Linked DNA regions of Homo sapiens: region 1 is linked to region 2. The links are contacts of gene promoters, found by promoter capture Hi-C in blood cells and fetal thymus (Javierre and others, 2016). All regions are on one chromosome and are shown on one strand. The core of a region is centred on a gene start or on the middle of the fragment in contact, and the rest is flanking DNA. Distances in the headings are between cores, read along the strand shown.

What was found. Contacts are between HindIII fragments. The CHiCAGO score rates a contact against its expected background, and 5 or more counts as called.
Region 1: the fragment with the promoter of PREB here is called in contact with a fragment that was not itself captured in region 2 in 1 of 17 cell types (naive B cells); the score reaches 6.0 in naive B cells.

The regions. Positions count from the first base shown.
Region 1 is chr2:27,133,067-27,136,571 of GRCh38, forward strand. PREB (prolactin regulatory element binding) reads right to left here and starts at 1,570. Exons shown (of 9, transcript NM_013388.6): 1 at 1,221-1,570; 2 at 466-655; 3 at 51-271. The coding sequence starts at 1,355. RefSeq lists a silencer at 1,289-1,388 and enhancers at 1,327-1,983, 1,459-1,508. The HindIII fragment of the contact is 5,539 bases long and covers 1-3,505 here.
Region 2 is chr2:27,343,768-27,347,563 of GRCh38, forward strand. All of the region lies in intron 1 of GTF3C2 (general transcription factor IIIC subunit 2), which reads right to left. Among named protein-coding and RNA genes, the nearest start is that of GTF3C2-AS1, 10 kb to the left of the region's middle. The HindIII fragment of the contact is 1,378 bases long and covers 562-1,939 here.

The sequences.
Region 1 (3,505 bases), core at 320-2,819, 210 kb before region 2:
TGATCCTGTTGCTACTGACATTCACCCTCCCTAACCCTGCAAACCCACACCTTCCAGACACGGACGTAGCCATCTGTTCCTCCAGTGGCAAGCAGGGTATTATCGTGGTTGAAGCACACAACTTTCTGCAGTGGATCGGAGCTAAAGTCTGTCTGCACCGCCTGCAAATTCTCTACCCTGAGTTCTAGCCCCTCGTGCTGGGTTTCCGCTCCACATTTCTTCTCTGCTGGGGCTGCTCCCTTCCTTTGTCGAGGCCCCTGCTCCTTGGAACCTGTAACACAAACACTTGGCCAGGTTCCAGGCTTCTACAGTAAGGAGTACTGGCCCCTCTCTCCATGGCAGGTGCCCATACAACTTCTAGCTTGCTACCAAAACCCTACTTCCAGACCCACTTCTTTAGAGACACCAAGAGTGACCTTACTCGTTCAACCCTTTCCCCAAGGGGGTAGAGAGGGAGCTCCTCACCGGCCTTCTCTGCCTTGTTGCCCTGCTGTTGATGTGCCTGGAAGCGCAGGAGCTGACAGTGGGCATCCTGCCCTGCAGCAAGGATGTCACCAGCCAGTGCCAAGTTCATGGTGGCCCGTGTCTCTGTGTCATGGGAGTGCAGCAAGGAGGCACTCAAGCGCCCATTAATCAGCTCTAGCTGCAGAAAGTGCTGTGGGAGGGGGAACCCGGATGAGCAAGTTCAGGGGTGCCCAGAGAGCACGTTTAGGGAAGAGTCTGATGTCTTACCCCTTTGCTTTCTGCACGTTCTAGTTCACAAGGGTTTCTCGAGTCTTTTTTCTCTCATTTGGGCCTCACAAATCTACACAGTGAGCAGGACTGGGATTATTACCTCTATTTTACAGAACAGGGTGAAGCTCAGGAGAGGGAAGGAACTTAGCCTAAACCCAAATGCACCACTCTCGCCGCTGCTAGAGGGCAGGCAAGACCTCCCGGAAAAGGCCAGTATAAGACCCCTGGAGCTGCTCTGAGGCGGAGCTGAAGCGTTCCTGGCGACTCTGCAGCTGTGTGCAGTTTTCACTTTACCTTAAAAGCCTCTCCTCCGCCCGCTGAGTTCTCGACTGAAATTCGCCCCTGGGCGTCAGGCAAGCGGGTCTTCCCAACAGAAGTGGGCAGGGCCCGAAGCTGGAGTGTGGCCCGCCCCGCGACCCCCCGGCCACCCTGGAATCGCCGCCAGCCCGCAGCAAGACCCAGCCCCAGTGGCCCTGCGCTCTCACCACGCCATTCTTTATGCCTGTCTTGGCGGCGCCTCCTCCGCCCGCAGCGATGAGCAGCCCAGTGCTGGGGTCGACCTGAAGCGCGTACAACGGGAACGGAGCCCGGTACAGCTCTGGCGCCCGGCGCCGGCCCATCCCGCCCGGCGCGCGTTCACTGCCCGCACCGCGGCACCCAGGACATGCCGCGCCGGGCCTTCGACTACTGCCCCGGCGGCTGGTGAACTCGGCCCCGTCGCCGCCGGGAGCACTCCCTACCCCTCTCACACCGGGGAGTTGCCAAAACCCTGACCATCAGCAGGAAGCCGAGCCTCAGCTCGGCTCCGTCCAAGTCGGTCTCGCAGACGCGCACTGCGCATGCGCACCTGTCTCGCGGCTCCCTCCGCGCAGGCGCAGGAGCGCCGACACGCGTCAGCACTAGCCGGCCGCGGGGCCGCGTTTCCCGGGGCGGGGCTTCGGTTCTCCACCCCTGGCGCGGAGGCAGAGTCGCCCAGCACCGACTTCGCCATTTTTGTGCGGGGCGCGGGGCGCGGGCGGAGGAGGTGGAGCCAATGGAGGTTGATGAAGGTCAACCTTTAATAAAGAAATCCGACTCGCGCCTGTAATCCCAGCACTTTGTGAGTCCTAGGCGGGCGGATCAGGAGTTCGAGACCAGCCTGACCAACATGGAGAAACCCCGTCTCTACCAAAAATACAAAGGGCGTGGTGGCGTGCGCCTGTAATCCCAGCTACTCGGGAGCCTGAGGCAGGAGAATCACTTGAACCTGGGAAGTAGAGGTTGCAGTGAGCCGAGATCGCGCCATTGCCATTGCTCTTCAGCCTGGGCAACAAGCAACAAGAGTGAAACTCCGTCTCAAAAAAAAAAAAATCCTCTGCCAGGCACGGTGGTTCATGCCTGTAATCCTCCTGTAATCCCAACACTTTCGGAAAGTCCGAGAGAGGAGGATGGCTTGAGCCCAGGCTTTCGAGACAGCCTGGGCAACATGGGGATCCGTCCCTACGAAATATTTAAAAATTAGCCAAACATCGTGGCACCTGTGGGCCCAGGTGCCCAGGAGGCTCAGGCGGGAGGATCACTTGAGACTGGGAGGTCGAGGCTGCGCTGGACCACCAGTGATGTCACCACTGCACTCCAGCCCCTGGGCAACAGAGCTAGACCCTGTCTCTCACACACATAAAATCCTCAAATAAGGACTGTTCCCATCTGAGGAGTGATATGCCAACTCCTAGGAGCACAGGCCTTTGCATCTTACCTCAGAGAGGAAGTGATTTGCCCGAGGGCACACACCAGAAACCACCGGAGTCTCTTGCTTCTTAACGGAGGCAGCATGAACTTAAAAATAAACCTGACTTCAAATGCTGAATCCATTGCTTCCTCGTATGAGGACACGTCTGTCATCCTTAACGCCTATCGCCCACTTTTGGCAGGGGTGGTGTCTGCCATTCCCTTTCTCAAGGCTTCACACTCCTGGGCTGGTGGCTTGGTGGGTGGCCAGCTGCTTTGCTGGCCTCAGAGGGGGCAGTTTGGCTCCCGGGCAGGTATCTTCTGCGCCTGACACTCCATTCTCCCTCGGGTTTCTGATCTGATGAGGACCTTTGTGCACTCCTGAGAGCGAGCACAAGGGATGTCCTTCCCTGCAAAGAGACGCCCTCTCCTGCATTCTCATTAACCTAAGGTGCACCCAGAGGAATAGCGCAGTGGCTTCATCTTTGGGGATGCCAATATCTGTCCCACAGAGTTGAATTAGATGTGTGAAGGGCCTGGCCAAGCTCTCTGCATATCTCAAGTCCCCAGGCCTTGTGGGTCCCTTGTCCTCCTTGGATACATGGCACCTGCTCTTTCTGGCCTCTCCGTTTCCTTTGACACCACCCTCCAGGGTCTTTTTTATTTTTTGAGACGGAGTCTCGCTCTGTTGCCCAGTCTGGAGTGCAGTGGCCTGATCTCAGCTCACTGCACCCTCCACCTCCCAGGTTGAAGTGATTCTCCTGCCTCAGCCTCCTGAGTAGCTGGAACTACAGGCACCCGCCACCACACCCAGCTAATTTTTGTATTTTTAGTAGAGATGGAGTTTCACCATGTTGGCCAGGCTGGTCTCGTAACTCCTGACCTTAAATGATATGCCCACCTTGGCCTCCCAAAGTGCTGGGATTATAGGCATGAGCAACCACACCATGCCCTCTTTTTTTTTTTTTTTTTTTTGAGATAGGGTCTCTGTCACCCAGGCTGGAGTGCAATGGCATGATATAGCTCATTGCAACCTTGAACTCCTGGACTCAAGTGATCCTCC
Region 2 (3,796 bases), core at 1-2,500:
AGGTGCGGTGGCTCACACCTGTAATCCCAGCACTTAGGGAGGCTGAGGCAGGAAGGCAGCTTGAGCTTAGGAGTTTGAGGCTAGCCTGGGCAACACAGCAAGACCCCTTCTCTAGCAAAATAAAATAAAATAAAAAAATTAAAAACAAAAAAGGAAACTGGTGATATGACAATAAACAAGACAGACAAGGTCCCTGCCCTCATGGAACTTACATTTTGGTGAAGCAGACAATAAACAAGTAAACAAATAAAGCTTCCATTTTTTTTTTTTTTTAAAGACGGAGTTTCACTCTCGTTGCCCAGGCTGGAGTGTAATGGGGCAATCTCAGCTCACTACAACCTCCACCTCCTGGGTTCAAGCAATTCTCCTGCCTCAGCCTCCTGAGTAGCTGGGATCAAGGTGCGCACCACCACGCCCAGCTAATTTTTGTATTTTTAATAGAGATGAGGTTTCACCATGTGGGCCAGGCTGGTCTCAAACTCCTGACTTCAGGTGATCCACCCGCCTCAACCTCCCAAAGTGCTGGGATTACAGATAATGAGTCACTGCGCCTGGCCATAAAGCTTCCATTTATTAAATGCTAACTATGTGCCAAGCACTATACTAAGTGCTATACATACATTATCTAATTTAAAGCTCATATATTTTCTTGTAAGGATGAAGCAGTGAATGCACAATTATTTAACCTCTGTCTCTGAAACCCAATGAAATAAAACACACACACACAGACATACACACACTCCAAAAAAGAAGAGAGAGAAAAATTTGTCTAGCATGAATCTAGGAAAGGGACACCAACTTCCTCAAAATATACTACAAAAAAGAGCTGCCAGATACTACAAAATTTAGACCAAAGTGAAGAGGCATACTTAATGTTAACATCTCTTTCTGTAAAGATTAGTCAAGGAATAAGTTTATTTAAGAATAAGTAAAAGGCCAGGCAGGATGGCTCATGCCTGTAATTCCAACACTTTGAGAGGCCAAGGAAGAAGGACTGCTTGAGGCCAGGAGTTCAAGACCAGTCTGGGCAACATAGGGAGACCTCATCTCTACAAAAAATTTTAAAAGTTAGCCGGGCATGGTGGTGCGCACCTGTAGTCCCAGCTACTTGGAAGGCTGAGACAGGAGGATTGCTTGAGCCTAGGAGTTCGAGGTTACAGTGAGCTATGATGGTGTTACCATACTCCAGCCTGGGTATGGTATTTTAAATAAAAACATTTAAAAATAATTTTCTGGCCAGGCACGATAGCTCATGCCTGTAATTCCAGCACTTTGAGAGGACAAGGCAGAAGGATGGCTTGAGTCCAGGAATTCAAGACCATCCTGGGCAACAGAGTGAGACTCCTTTGCTACAAAAAAACATGGTGGTGCACACCTGTAGTCTCAGCTACTTGGGAGGCTGAAGACTTGGGAGGCTCCTTGAGCCCAGGAGGTCGAGGCTGCAGTGAGCTGTAATCACACCACTGCACTCCAGCCTGGGCAACAAAGCAACACCGTCTCAAGTAAATAAATAAATGAATTTATTTTTTAAAAAGAATGAGTTGGCCAGGCACGGTGGCTCACACCTGTAATCCCAGCACTTTGAAAGGCTGAGGCAGGCGTATTGCCTGAGGTCAGGAGTTCGAGACCAGCCTGGCCAACATGGTGAAACCCCATCTCCACTAAAAATACAAAAATTAGCTGGGCATGGTGGCAGGCGCCTGTAATCCCAGCTACTCAGGAGGCGGAGGCAAGAGAATCAATTGAACCCGTGGGGTGGAGGTTGCAGCGAGCCGAGATCATGCCACCGTACTCCAGCCTGGGTGACAGAGTGAGACTCTGTCTTTAAAAAAAAGAATGAGTCAAAGAGTTCTCTGGTGCCCTGCTATCAATATTTCACCTGGATGGGGGTGGTGGGTAGACTATGGGACAATTAAGGAACATCCTATTATGTTAAGAAAGCTTTTCCTTTTTTTTTTTTTTTGAGATGGAGTTTCACTATCGTTGCCCAGGCTGGAGTGCAGTGGCGTGATGTCGGCTCACTGCAACCTCTGCCTCCCAGGTTCAAGCAATTCTCCTGCCTCGGCCTTCCGAGTAGCTGGGACAACAGGTGCCCGCCACCACACCCAGCTAAATTTTTGTATTTTTAGTAGAGATGGGGTTTCACCATGTTGACCAGGCTGGTCTTGGACTCCTGACCTCAGGTGATCTGCCCACCTTGGCCCCGCAAAGTGCTAGGATTACAGACTTGAGCCACTGTGCCCCGCCACTTTTTTTTTTTTTTTTTTTTTTGAGACACGCTCTTGTTCTATCACCCAGACTGGAGTGGTGCAGTGGTGTGATCACAGCTCACTGCAGCCTTGTCCTCCAGAGCTCAAGCAATCCTCCTGCCTCAGCCTCCCAAGTAGCTAGGACTATAGGCATGTATCACCATGCCTGGCTAATTTTTAAATTTTTTGTAGAGATGAGGTCTCACTACGTTGCCCAGGATGGTCTTGAATTCCTGGGCTCAAGCAATCTTTCCACCTCGGTCTCCCAAAATGTTGGGATTATAGGTGTTAGCCACCGTGCCCATTCTGATACCTTTTTTTTTTTTTTTTTTTTTTTTTTTTTTTTTTTTTTTGAGACAGAGTCTCATTCTGTAACCCAGGCTGGAGTGCAATGGTGCAATCACAGCTCACTGCAGCCTGGACCTCCCAGGCTCAAGTGATCCTCCCACCTCAGCCGCCTGAGTAGTTGGGACTACAGGCATGCACCACCATGCCTGACTAATTTTTGTATTTTTTGTAGAGACTAAGTTTCACCATGTTGCCCAGGCTGGAGTGCAGTGGCGTGATTACATACTCAAACTCCTGGACTCAAGCAATTCTCTCAACTTCGTCTCCCAAAATGCTGGGATTACAGGCATAAACCACTATGCCTTGCCTTTTTTAATTTTTAAAAATTAAAAAAAATTTTTTTTTTCTGAGTCAGGATCTCGCTCTGTCACCCAGACTAGAATGTGGTGGTGTGATCACAGCTCACTGCAGCCACTAACTCCTGGGTTCAAACAGTCCTCCCTCCCCAGCTTCCCAAATAGCCAAGACTTCAAATGTGCACCAATACGCCCAGATACGTTTTTAATTTTTTTGTGCAGATTGGGTCTTGCTATTTTGCCCAGGCTTGTCTTGAATTCCTAACCTCAAGAGATCCTCCCACCTTGGCCTCCCAAAGTGCTGGGATTACAGGTGTAAGCCACCATGTCTGGCCAAGAAACCTTTCCACATTGAAGAATTGACTAAATTGTCATGAGTCTTCATTTTCTTCAAACCCCAAAAAATTAGTTGTATAACCATGGGCCAAAGTAAACTAAGATAAATCACTGACCACCAAACCCGAAACCTAAGCAACACAGAACTCTCCAAGGGTCCAGTTTTTGGCCAGAATAACCTGCCTGTCTGTGACAAAGGGGCAGACATAGTTCAAATCCCAGGATGGGACCCCGCCCCCCACAGATCTATATATACGCCTTAAGAATAAACAATTCATCAGTCTCAGTGGAAAAGTGTGCTTATACAAATCCCATAAGAAATATAAAATAAAAGCTTCCAACTGTCTCACTTGAAGAAGCTACAGTCTAACCAGATTATAAACTATAGCAATGGCCAACCCTCTGAGGCAGGTGCTGAGGATACAAGAAAACACATGTGCTAAAGATACATTATAACACTGCCAAGGTAAATAAAGGTCAGTGAAAATCCATCTATATTATTCCTGTGATAAATAAGAAGCCCTGACAGAACTACCCCATTCAAAATTAGTCACAAGCCAAAAGGAC